3 separate regions of the Homo sapiens genome follow, and regions 2 and 3 are each linked to region 1. The links are contacts of gene promoters, found by promoter capture Hi-C in blood cells and fetal thymus (Javierre and others, 2016). All regions are on one chromosome and are shown on one strand. Each heading gives the region's core, a stretch centred on a gene start or on the middle of the fragment in contact. The rest is flanking DNA. Distances are from core to core; before and after follow the strand shown.

Region 1 (4,137 bases), core at 1,110-3,609:
GAACAACTAAATCAAGACATGTTAAATAAGTTTGAAGAGAAAGCTGTAAGAAAAATGCAAGAGGAGGAAGTTGTTAAATATGAATTCTAAATTTCTCTTCAAAGAATTAATATGTCAGTATGTTCCATTCTTTGCCTTCTACTTTTAAACGTAGCTTCCTAGTAAAGCAACCTTTTCTGATTACCTACTCCAACCTGACTCATTCTCCACCTTGACTCATTCTGATTACGTACTCCACCTTGACTCATTCCAATTCATTCTTCACCCTGACTCATTTCATAACCATTTTTCCCGCCATCACTGTCTTTAAATTAGTCCATCGGAATTAGTTTAGCCTGTGCAGTCTAACCCTAGCCAATAAGGGAACGACACAGCAGTGGGGACCACGTGCGTCAGGAATAAGAACCCCTTTCCCTCCCTCGTCCAAGTGTGCACTCACCATTGCTCCATCTGTAAGGGTGCACCCTTCTATAGAAGTACCTTGCCTTGCTGAGAATTAAAAAGAAAATTTTATATTCGACTGCTATTTCTTTTGCAGCATGGAAACTTTATTTATAACAAGATCTTCTGTATCTAATTACTAACCCTTTTTGTTCTCCATTGCTTGGCTTCCCAGTAATCAATAATCATGCTCACTTTGCTTAATTGAAGATTAACGTGATCAAAAAGACGGTCTGTTCCTTGTAGAAATTTCCGGTTGTGTAAGATGGTCATTCTCATGACCGTCTGGCTAATCATTTCCCATTATGTACTCCTGGAGTTGGAATTATTTGCGATTCCTAACGACAAAACTGTATCTTCTTTCTTGTGTTTGTCCTTACTGCCTTTCAGCATATTCCAATATGCCAAGAATTTTAATCTCCTACCCCACCCCAAATTGCTGTTGATCATAATCAGGCAATGTCTCTCTCTCTGTTTACTATCTAGTTACTTTACATACATATGAAGTGAGTCATGGGCAATACTGTGGAATGGAAATCATTACTGAGTGGTCCTCTTCCCCCAAGTCATTTATGCCACCACTTCACAGTGGTTCCATTTCCAATATATTTTGCCACTTTGCTGCTGAGAATGTGTCTTACTAGGTTAGCATCTATAGTGGTTAAAAGAATCTCCCATAACAATAATTGTGTGAATCACAGAATTACCAATGACCCCTTATCAATAGCATTCCTGTTAATTAAATTGAGATGGGGAGAGATACAAACAACTCCGAACCTCACTCATGGTCCCCCACCAAAGCTAAGTATTATGGCTTCTCTCTCTGACCAGATAGAGGCAGAGTTTATTGCAAAGCCACAAGTGTCCTCCTTTGGATTCCCCCAAATAGTGTTTCAGTGAATTCCTCTAGCTTGAATTGCTCCTCTCTATTTGCTGGGGGAGTTAGGCAGTCCGTATCCGATGGATTTACTATGCCGACAATTACGTGGCCTTTCCACAGCCTTTTACTTGGCAGGTACCACATATGAAGCTTAGAAGATACAGTGGGCAACAGGCCAAATGGAGTCCCTTTCCTCAGAGTGCATGGCCTGGCAAAAATCCTTGAATTCAGTATCAACTTCCCTTCACAGGCAAGGCTCTGCACCCTCCCCACGGATGCCTAATCCTGAAACCATTTTGTTTTAGGTTTAGTTAGAAAGCTTTGTCTCAAGAGCACTTTTGTTTGTTCTGTTTTCTTTAAGTCAAGGTAGTTTTGAATAAAGGAGACAATATTTGAGTATTTACAAATCGGGTATTTAGACTATTTACACATATACAAGTTCTGGGTGAAGTATTCTGCTCCAATTTGCAATCTACGCACACTTTGCTAGAAAACGTTAAGACTGAATTCAAATCAAGTACAGTATTTCAGAAATCTTTCAGGTGAAGCCTAGTTCTGGTTGCTAGGCAACCTGACAGACTCCCAAGCTGGGACCACCTCGCCTCCCACATTTGACCATCTCTCCAGCGGTGGGACGCGGAGTACCCATTGGCCCGCATCTCCTCTCACTTAGTCCCAATTGGTCGGAGAACCTCTCACTCCGCTCCCGTTGGCTCTCGCCGTATCTCGCAGCTCCGTCATTGGCAACTGGGCTCTCGTGCCACCTCACGTCAGTCTCTCACACCACTTCCTCGGCCCTGAGACTTTGTCCCCGCCTCTTCTCCCCGCCCTTCCAGCCACGAGGGAAAATCCTAGCGAGTCATCGCCTCTAGTTTCCTTTTGATTGGTAGAAGCCGGACTGGGGGGCGGGCGCTGCCGGGCAACTCTACCGGCCGCGATTGGCTGTGGGAGCCACCGTCCCGCCTCCCAGCGACTCTCGGCGGTGCCGGAGTCGGGTGGGTTGGCGGCTATAAAGCTGGTGGCGAAGGGGAGGCGCCGCGGACTGTCCTTTCGTGGCTCACTCCCTTTCCTCTGCTGCCGCTCGGTCACGCTTGGTGAGTGTCCCGCGCTGGGGAGTAGAACTGGGCTGCGGAGGTGCCGCGGGCGGGGTGTGGGCCAGACAGAGGCGGTGTCCTTGACTAGGCCCGAAGGAGCTGGGGCTCTGGGTCAGGACGTAGGCGTGGACTTTGCCCGGGAGGATGGGGCACCGTGAGCGGGGCCGGGCGGGGGTTCCCTCGTGAGGGACCTGAGGCCGACCGTAGCGGATCTGAGAAGATCCGAGAACACAGGCGAGTCGCGGAGGGGAGAACGCGAGAGGGCGTTGAGGTCTAGGTATTCTAACGACAGAGGAGTTGGAGGTGCCAGAGAGGCAGCTGTGACCGCCTAGAGGTGAGTGGGGGGTGTCAGGAGGGGGAGAGAAGACAGTTGGGCTACCAAGGCGTTTCCAGAGCGTTGGTTAAGGGTGGACGCCAAAGGATGGGCAAGATCCTCTTTAGACGGAGGCTGGTAGGTTCGCAGGGGGTGTGTCCTGCTGCCACATATAGAGTTGATGGAAAGAAGGGAAGTGGGTAGCATTACTTTTCTTCCTCAGCTCAGGTGCAAGAAAGCGTTCACAACCGTGATTTAGACCTGGCTAAGTACTGGGGCTCAGTCTGTACTTGCTTCAAATCTCATAGATCACTGCCTCCCGCCTTCCTGCCTCCATATTTTTTTTTGTCTACGTTTTAAAAAATAGGCTTCCTTGGTGTTCTGAAATCCCACATCTCTCTCCTACTAATACCTTCGGGACCAGCTTTAGGTGATACAGTGTAATGGGCAGGCACTCACAGAGTCCTCCCACAAATAGGTTTTGGATTAAGCTAAGGATATTTCAAAGCAAGTATATGGAGTCTTTGAAAACCCACGTCTGGCCTTGACCAGTGGTAGAGAAACGATTATTCTGATCCACTCTGGAGGAGGGATTTGGGGAACAAATAATGTGAGGTTGTGCCTGTTTGTCATGCTTGTCCCTATGGCCTTAGCCTTAAGGCATCAGTAGCTGCTTTCACTGCTCACCTCTGCTGCAGCTCCCCACCTTCCCGAGGATGCTCTTGCCACCTGCTGCAGTAGGATGATGTGTTCTGGTTGCTGCTAACTAACATTTGCTCTGTTTTAGGCATGAATATGAAAAACAATGACAAGATAAACAACAAAATTAAGACAAATGGAAGTGCTCCTAGAGTTAACAGATTTTTCCTTCTGAGATGTGTTTTGGACTTTATTGCACAGATACTATTAGATGAGAGGCAGTTGAAAGTCGTTAACATTATCCGTGTCAGTAGTTCTTTGCACTTGAGACACCTAAGCAGCTTGTGTTCTTTAAACTTTATTTTAAAATTGCAGTTATTTTTGTGTGAAGAAGGGGGCAGGGATAGCATACCTTATGGGAAGAGAGAAAGGCTTTCTTTGTGTCTACCTTTGTAGATATTTCTCACCTAAGTTTGTAAGTTTGCCCTTTATTCGGTTCTACTTTAGTTCAGCTCAATTCTAGTATAATCATCAGTAACCCCAGCACTCAGAAGGTCTGACTTACGCTGTGGGGAGGGAGTGTAAAAGGATATTTTATGTTTGGAGCCATAGGCCACATCATTTGGGCCTTGTTTTAATTTTGTTTTTCATCTTAAATATCCCTCCAGATTGCTTTTACATCTTGTTTCTTTTAACTGTGGATTGATTTTGAGATTTTGACTTAGATTTTAGATAGCTTTTCTCAGAAGAAATAAACGCAAAAACCCGAT
Region 2 (4,137 bases), core at 1,224-3,723, 700 kb after region 1:
TAGTCCTGTGTAGAACCATCCACCTTTCATGGTCAATCTGTGTCTTCTTTAGGAAGCAATTTTTCTTTCTCCTAGTTGGGATCCATCTCTACATTCTTTTTGCTTCCACAACACCAATTTTGTTTTTAATATCTGGACAATGGCACTTATTATTCCATGTCTGATATGTTAGTTATCTAACTGCCCAATGAATAATAAGCTTGAAGTCTGAAGGTAAGGATCATGGCTTATTCTCCTTTTGATCCATCACAGCATTAGCATAGTTCCTTAAATATAGGGAGTGCTCAATACATATTTGTAAAATTACTAAATATTTAACTTTCAAAAAATGTTGTGAGGCATTATGATTTTACTTATAATATTACTTTGAATTTACCATATATTTTGAGTTCTCTGAAGTCTCAATTTGCACAAAAGAAGATTCTAAAGTACATCATCAGATCCTATAACAAGTGTCCTTTTGGAACCATGAATGCTCAAATTTGAGGCAAAGTCAACATATTTTAACTAGATTTATGACATCTAGTCCCTTGCTAGTGTTTGATAAGGGAAAAAATAATAAAAATAAGATTAATTTCTTCCACTCACTGTCACCCGCGTGAATGCATTTGTCTGGTTTTGCATGCAGCAGCATGTTTGTCTTTGGATACTGACATATGTGGTGCTCGTTGCTTGGTACTTGTTTACTAGGCTGATACTGGTAGTAGTGACTCTTAAATCACAGGAATTAGTTGTTTTGGCAAATTCATAGATCTTGTTCAGACCAGGTGCAATTCAGCATGTCAGAGGTGTCCTAAGAAAGCATATACTTTGGCAGAGGTTTTAAGGTGTATTTTTCCCTCTATGGGCAAAGGCATCTTTCATAAACAGGTTGGTCTGGGCTCCTGCCACTCTGTGTCTCGTTTCCAAGCTCACTCTTCAATTTCCATCCAACATTTCTTGAATAAATTTCGTTCTCTTGGAAGTAGGTATTTCAGAGCTAGAAAAAGTAATCCTGAGTTAGAGTTGCTGTGTGTGAGTACTTACAATGTGCCAGGCACTGTCCTAGTTGCTGGGCATTCAATGGCAAAAACAGCAGATGGAATTCTGCCTTCCTGGGCCCATGTTCTAGTGTGTACGGGGATGAACACATAAGGAAATAGATGTGTATTATAATGTCAGGCAGCTGGGAAGATGTGGGGAGAGTGGCTGTTATAGATCTGAAGGTATGGTAATGAGCCACACAGATGTTTTGTGGAAGAACATTCCAGGCAATATGAAGCAAGAATATAGGCCCTGAAATGGGTTTGAGGAGTAGAAGGGAGGTATGTGTGGCAGGAGTAGAGAGAGTGAGAGAAGAATAGAAGGATTTGAGGTTGTGGAGGTGCAAGAGGCCAGATGTTGCAGGGTCTTGCAGCCTGGAAATAAACTTATGAACTGTTCACCATGTCAGATTCCATGAAATAGACCCCAGTGAGCTGGAATTGCTATTGCTATTCCCCTTATGATGTATCTTTTCCACTGCAATCCTTTATTGTCATAGTTGGGAATTGGGAGGTCTTGGGGATGGGTCCTTAAGCTATGTGGTATGTGGCTTTAATTCACTAATTAACTTTATTCCATGGTACTTGATCTGGATTACAGGCACAGACCAGAGGGCCATTTGTTTTTTCAAGACATATTATTGAGCACTTATTATGTGCAAGGCACTATACTAGGCACTGGGATATGGTTGTAAACAGACTAATGCTGGCCCCAGGGTTCATTTCTCTCCATTCCCTTAAATGGACCTTTGCCCCAGACCAACATGTCTGCTTGGGTCTTTGTCTACCTTACACCATTATCCTTGCTTTCTCCAGAATAGGGGGAAGATCAGAGCCAATTCCCATCTATAAAGTAGAAATAATATTTCAAAAAAATGAAATAATGTATGTGAAGTACTGAGCAGAATGCCTGGCACATAGTAAGTTAAGTGCTTCTGATTACGATTGCCTGTGAATTAATGGTATTTATTATATATGTCACTCATCTGATAGTTAATTATGTCTTATGCTGTATCTTGCATTATTTGCTTTGCATACATTTATGCTGTCGCTCCCTCAATTAGATTGTAAGTCTGTTGAAAGGAGCAACCTCATTTTATTTTTTCCAACTCTGCACACAGCAGGCTCTCAATAAATATCTGTAATATGTTTACTCTCTGACCTTTTATTCTAACAATCTCTTTTTAAATTAATTAGCAGTCTTAGCAGAAAAATGCATACATTTTACGGATTTATCTGTCACTTTTGTATGTAGTAAAAATGAAAACTTTGATGCAGCTCCCCTCACATACTTGAATCAAACATTTTAGATTCACTTTCTAAAGGTCAATTTTGGAAAGGAATTGTTGACACTCTCTTTTGGCCAACATGGAAGTGGTTCCAGAAACTATTTTGCAGTAGAAAATGGAAGCTCTACTAGCAAGCAAATGTAGATGGATATGGTGACAGTTTACCTAGACATGTCCCTGGGCAGTAAAAAGTAGCTACCTGATGCTTAGTTTTTTGAACTTTGCCCTTTTTTTGTTGTGCCTTCTGAAGTTCTCGGCTCTATTGAGAAGTATCCTTTATGGGTATTGAACTTTAAATCTAAATCTAACTTCAGTTAAAATTTTTAAAATGGACAATTAAATGAGAGTCAAAACGGTAATCAAATCACACAACATTGTTTAAAGTGGAAAATTATACCAGGTATGAAAAAGAAAAGTTTCATAGCTATAGGGCAGGCAATGCCTTAAAAGTCTAGAATATAAATTTTGTTTCCTTGTTTGAATTCTATTTAATGTGATGACAATATGACATAAAGAAAAAAGTCAAAAGTCTCATTGATAACCCATACACGGCCACTCCACTGGCCATAGATGTCTTGCACAGTGTGTCTTTGTGTCAGCCTGAAGGGGCAACCTGCCCCATATGCTTTTTGGCAGAACAAGGACACTGTATGGCTTTAAGTATTCCCTGATCGAATGTGGGAAAAGAAGCAGTTAGCCAAGTTCTGAACACAGTATTTATTGTGCTGACGCCAGCAGGTGAGGGGGGAAATGGGGAGGAACAGAACTCCCACACAACTTCTGCCTTGTTCTACTTTCTGGTGGATGTAAGTTAAGAAGGTTGACAAAGATACTTCTGGGTAAATGATGTAAGGAAGATCCAGGGCTTCAAGTTTAGGATCTGCAGCAAATGCTGTGTGTGTGTGTGTGTGTGTGTGTGTGTGTGTGTGTGTGTAAAATGAACTTCCTAGCAGCAGCTAGTGCCACTGAAGAGCAACCAAAATAATATGTGACCATTTAGATTACAAATGAGTTTGGTTTGCTATTAGCCCCTTGCCCTAAATTAGAAAATCTAGTCTTCTTCTTCTTTTTTTTTTTTAAGGGAATGAGCATGTACAAAAAGGGGATCTATAGAAGCCAGAAATGGTTGGGCCCCCAACACCATTTCAAACAATAATCCCAACAGACATTTCTCTTTCTAAAGAACACCACCAAAAAAGAATTAAAAACCTACATGGAAAGCATACTCTATTTTTGGCTTCTTAGGGGTTGCGCTCCCAGGAATTTCCTTTCCATTCCTGGATCTTTTAAGTCCTTGTCTGAATGGCTGTCTCTACTTCCTAATTTCTCCTCTTCTGAATCTACTTTGGTTTTACTTCTAATCCTTCCATTCCACTAAACCTGTTCATATCAAATTCAATAGTCCCTTCTTATTTCTTATATTACTTAACTTCTCAGAGGCATTTGACCCAGTACATTACTGTCTTTTAAAAATATGCTCTTTGCTTAGCTTTGAGGATGCCTGAGCCACTTGGTGTCCCTTCTAGCTCACCGACTGTTCTTTCTTGGTCTCCTTTACTGGCTTCTTTTCCTCTGCCCGACCCATAAATATTGTCCTGTTACAAAACTCTTCCCTCCAATATTCTAGCTTTTTTTTTTTTTTCCCCTGCAAAGGGAATCTCATCGAGTCTCATGGCTTTAAATATCATCTACACATTGATGGTTCCAAATTTCTATCTTAGTCTGAGCCTCTCCATTGAACTTCAGACTCTACTCAGCCTCTTCAGTATCTTCAGTTGGTATCTAATAGGTATCTCAATCCTAACACAGAACTCTCGAGCAATGTC
Region 3 (4,137 bases), core at 727-3,226, 560 kb after region 1:
GCTCGCCTGCCCCACGCTCTGGTCCCTCCTCTTTCCTCCTCACCTCCCCTCAAGAATTCACTCTCAGTCCTGAAGCCTGGGTCCCCTGGCTCCCTCTCCGTCATCCTAGTGTCCTTAGGGACCTAGCAGAAATAAAGGATGGGGGCCGAGGACCCGCGGATGTGAGAGAAGTGCCTGAGACAAAAACCTGTATGGACCCAGAGCACTGTAAGGAGATAAGAAGAAAAGCATCTCTATGGAAAAAGCGGGAGTTTCGAATCGCTTTCTAGCGTCCTTAGCGGCCTAGCAAAAATAAAGGATGGGGGCCGAGGACCCGCGGATGTGAGAGAGGTGTCTGAAAAGAAAAGCCTGTAATGGACCCAGAGCACTGTAATGAAATATGAAGAAAGGAATCTCTATGGAGAAAGCGGGAATTTCGAACCGTCAATAGAATTTGGAGTGTACCTGCTGTTGCTCCTAGTTCCCCACAGTCTCCCTTTCCGCTGCCTCTGGGGCCTGGTACACCCCTGAATGCTGTCCCCTCCTCCGGAAGCCGAATCCCCCAACAATGGGCCCGCCTTTCTCTGGGCCCGCCCTGTGCGCTATGCTGGAGCTCCTACCACCAGCAGTTCTTACCAACTTGGCCCAGCTCCGCTCAGCATCTGCGGCTGCTTAGGTATTTTCATGTGGTTTCCAGAACATGAATCAACACCGGATCAATAATTGTTTCCCCAACCAAAGAATAAATCACATTGGGTGTTCTGAATTGTGAGTCAGCTCCATTGAATAAATAATTATCCATATCTATTTTTGTAACTTATAAAATTGCCTTTTAAAATTCCAGAGCCAGTTAATAGATATGGTTTCCCATCTACAGAGTTATATCTTGGTAGCTTAATGATTAAGGGCGTGGGCTCTTGCGTGGATTCAAACCCCAACTCTTCTCTTTTTCCGTGGGTGATAGTGGGTAAGTTCTTAATTTCATGCACCTAAGCATCTTCATCTGTATAAGAGATTAATTATAATGCCTGCCTCTGCCGGGCGCTGTGGCTCACGCCTGTAATCCCAGCACTTTGGGAGGCCGAGGGGGGTGGATCACCTGAGGTCAGGAGTTGGAGACCAGCCTGGCCAACATGGTGAAACCCCGTCTCTACTAAAAATACAAAAATTAGCCAGGCGTGGTGGCGGGCTCCTGTAATCTTACCTACTTGGGAGGCTGAGGCAGGAGAATTGCTGGAACCCGGGAGGCGGAGGTTGCAGTGAGCGGAGATCGCACCATTGCATTCCAGCCGAGACCCGCAGCAGCAAGACTCAGTCAAAAAAAAAAAAAAGAAGCCTGCCTCTTAGGACGGTTGTGATGATTAAATGAAGTGATGCATTTATAAGGTGCTTAATGGAGATCCTTGCTTAAAGTAAGTGTTCAGAAATGTTAATTATTAGAATTTTTGAATGTTGTTCAGTAATAGTTTGAAAGCGAATCCACTGCCAACTTTGCTCATCTGCTTTTTTTTTTTTTTCTGAGTGGGAGATGGGAGGTTTATTTTTGTTAATGTGATTTTTCGATAGACTCCAAAATTTGGCAAGTGAAAAAATATAAACAGTAATATGATAACCCATACTTTACTAGTTGAAAGGTAGTGTGGCATAATGGCAAGAAAATTAGGTTAAAGTGGAAAATGGGGGTTGTAGTCTTCACTCTGCTGCTCAAATAAGCTTTCCCTAACATTAGTAGCAACACATAGAAATATTGAAAATGACCTGCTGAATTGCGGGTTCTACCCAATTAGCAAATATAAAATGTTCCATGTAACTCATGTCATAATAACTTTTGAAACAAGCCCATTTTAAGACCCTAAATGCTAAAATGCTACCTTCTCCATGAGTCATTCACTGATCGTATCAATCAGTTGTGATCTACCTTTCCTTACTCTATGGAACATGCTAGCTTTCTGTGGCATTTGTTAAGACTGAATTGATGTATTACCTCTTTTGCTGTATTTATTATTGGCTCCTTGGGGGAAGAAACTCTATTTTCTTTATATATATATATATATATATATATATACACACACACACACACACACACACGCGCATGTATGTATGTATGTATGTATGTATGTATTAAGTTCCACCTAGGCCCATCCTAGGCAAATTTCAGGAGTCCTTTGAAAATATGTGGTGACTGGAATGTGTAAGGTGGAGAGGGAGCTCCCTAGATCCCCTGCCTCATCTGTACTTCCAAATCTTCTGGATGTTCCAACATTTGAAATACAGAAGCTTTGACTATCTAATGATTTTGGGATGTAGAGACTAAGAAAGTTGGAATATTATATATATATATATGTATATATGCAAACACACATATATGTATATATATATACACATATATATGTATATGTATATATTTCTCCATAGAGCCTACCATAGAGAAAATAGAAATGAACCAACACATCAGGAATAAGTCAGAAAAGTTTAGCTTAATTTTTCTAGTTTAGAATGGGTTGCAAGTTTATCTTCCAGTTTATAGATGTTAGCATTTTTTTCAAAGAATTCTAGTAGGTTTAGAGTGCATCTTTCAATGAGAAACTAAATGAACTTGTCATGATTTCATCTTTAAAAAGTGAATGTGTTTCACAGTTGTATTCACAGTCTTATTCTTCAGATACCATCCAACTGAGAAACAGAATTCATCAAATATTTGCTCAGAAAATATTCATTTTTGCTTACTACTTGGATGTGGGATCATTCATACACCACATGTCAGCAACATGCAATTTACTCATGTAGCAAACTTGCACATGTACCCCCCAAGCCCAAAATAAAAGTTGGGAAAAAAGAGAATATTTATTTTCTGATAGATCAAGGATTTATTTAATATATATTTTAAGACTGCCTGGAAAACCAAAATAGAGAAACAAACTACATTATTTTGTCATACTAACAAAGAAAGTAACACTGGAATTCATTAAAAATACCCTGATTTGGAAGAGAAATGCATATGTACCTGGGCAGCTGAAAAAAAATCAGAAGCTACCGGTTTATGTACATAAAGATCTTAAAATGAGTGATACATTGATTTTTTTAGGTTGAAAACAGCTTCACTCATTAATTCATTCTAAAATATTTAAGTACTTACAAAACATCAGCTGCTGCAAGTCTAGGCACTAAGGAGAGCAAAGACAAATAAGAGACTCTCCTTTTGCCTTGGAGCTTACAGTCTCAAAGGAGAGACTAGCAGAGGATTGAAATCTAGTGTATGTTATTGGCAATATTGCTCTGGCATTGGAATCTCACTTGATTATTTTAGTTACTATCACCGGCATATTATAACAACAAAATATTATGGTGTTGCTCCCATATCACAGCAAATGTTTATAAGTGGTTTGGCTAATCTATGGAGTCCTTTGTTCCAGCCCTATTATTTAACTCTCTCGATATTCTTACCTCTGTTTAGGCCATGCTTTTTGTCTTTGAATCAAATTCACCAACTGCTGAAATTTCAGCTTGCTCTCATTTCCATGAATATTTATTTAAAAATGCTACATACATATTTCACCTATACAAGGTGAAATATAAATTAGAAATTGAAGAGCAGTAGAGAAATAAAACAGAAATACTCTGGCCTGTAGGTCAACAAAGTTTTTATATTTCTGCTACAAATTTGGCTTTGAATTTACTGATGGTTGGAATAAAAAAGGATACAGGCTTAACTACTTAGTTTATTTATTTATTTTTGTAAAAGAGGAGAAAACATACAAGTTTCTCAGGAGGAACCATGTTCCCTAACTCTAACTTCTTAATTTTTCACATTAAGATTCATATAGGAGGCACTGGATAATTTAATAGGCAATTTCCTCAATATTAGCCTGAGAGTAAAGGTGGAAATGAGCTTTTTAAGACACTTTCGAAGTATCTCTATGAAAAAGGCTAGATTGGATCAGAAATGGCAATCATAATGAATCATGATCTAGGCCCCTGCTTTTCAAAGTGTGGTCTCTGCACCAGCAACATGGGCATCGCCTGCGGGCTTGTAAAAATGCAGTCTCAGACTCTATCCCATAACTGCTAAATCAAAGTCTGCATTTTAACAACATTACCAGGTGATTCATGTGCATATAAATGTTTGAGAAGCATTGATCTTCTGTGTAGAAAGCTTTT

The links. The method cuts DNA at HindIII sites, captures the fragments that hold promoters and counts their contacts. A CHiCAGO score of 5 or more calls a contact.
Region 2: a fragment that was not itself captured here is called in contact with the fragment with the promoter of HMGCS1 in region 1 in 1 of 17 cell types (total B cells); the score reaches 6.0 in total B cells.
Region 3: a contact is called between a fragment that was not itself captured here and the fragment with the promoter of HMGCS1 in region 1, in 2 of 17 cell types (non-activated CD4 T cells and naive CD8 T cells). The highest score is 7.5, in non-activated CD4 T cells.

What each region holds. Positions count from the first base shown.
Region 1 is chr5:43,311,634-43,315,770 of GRCh38, reverse strand. It overlaps HMGCS1 (3-hydroxy-3-methylglutaryl-CoA synthase 1), which reads left to right and starts at 2,359. Exons shown (of 11, transcript NM_001098272.3): 1 at 2,359-2,415. RefSeq lists enhancers at 1-837, 932-1,446, 1,447-1,963, 1,970-2,199, 2,450-2,589. The HindIII fragment of the contact is 3,835 bases long and covers 1,643-4,137 here.
Region 2 is chr5:42,616,494-42,620,630 of GRCh38, reverse strand. The region is part of intron 2 of GHR (growth hormone receptor); the gene reads right to left. Among named protein-coding and RNA genes, the nearest start is that of CCDC152, 140 kb to the left of the region's middle. The HindIII fragment of the contact is 4,544 bases long and covers 202-4,137 here.
Region 3 is chr5:42,753,193-42,757,329 of GRCh38, reverse strand. CCDC152 (coiled-coil domain containing 152) reads right to left here and starts at 512. Exons shown (of 9, transcript NM_001134848.2): 1 at 445-512. RefSeq lists an enhancer at 1-457. The HindIII fragment of the contact is 564 bases long and covers 1,695-2,258 here.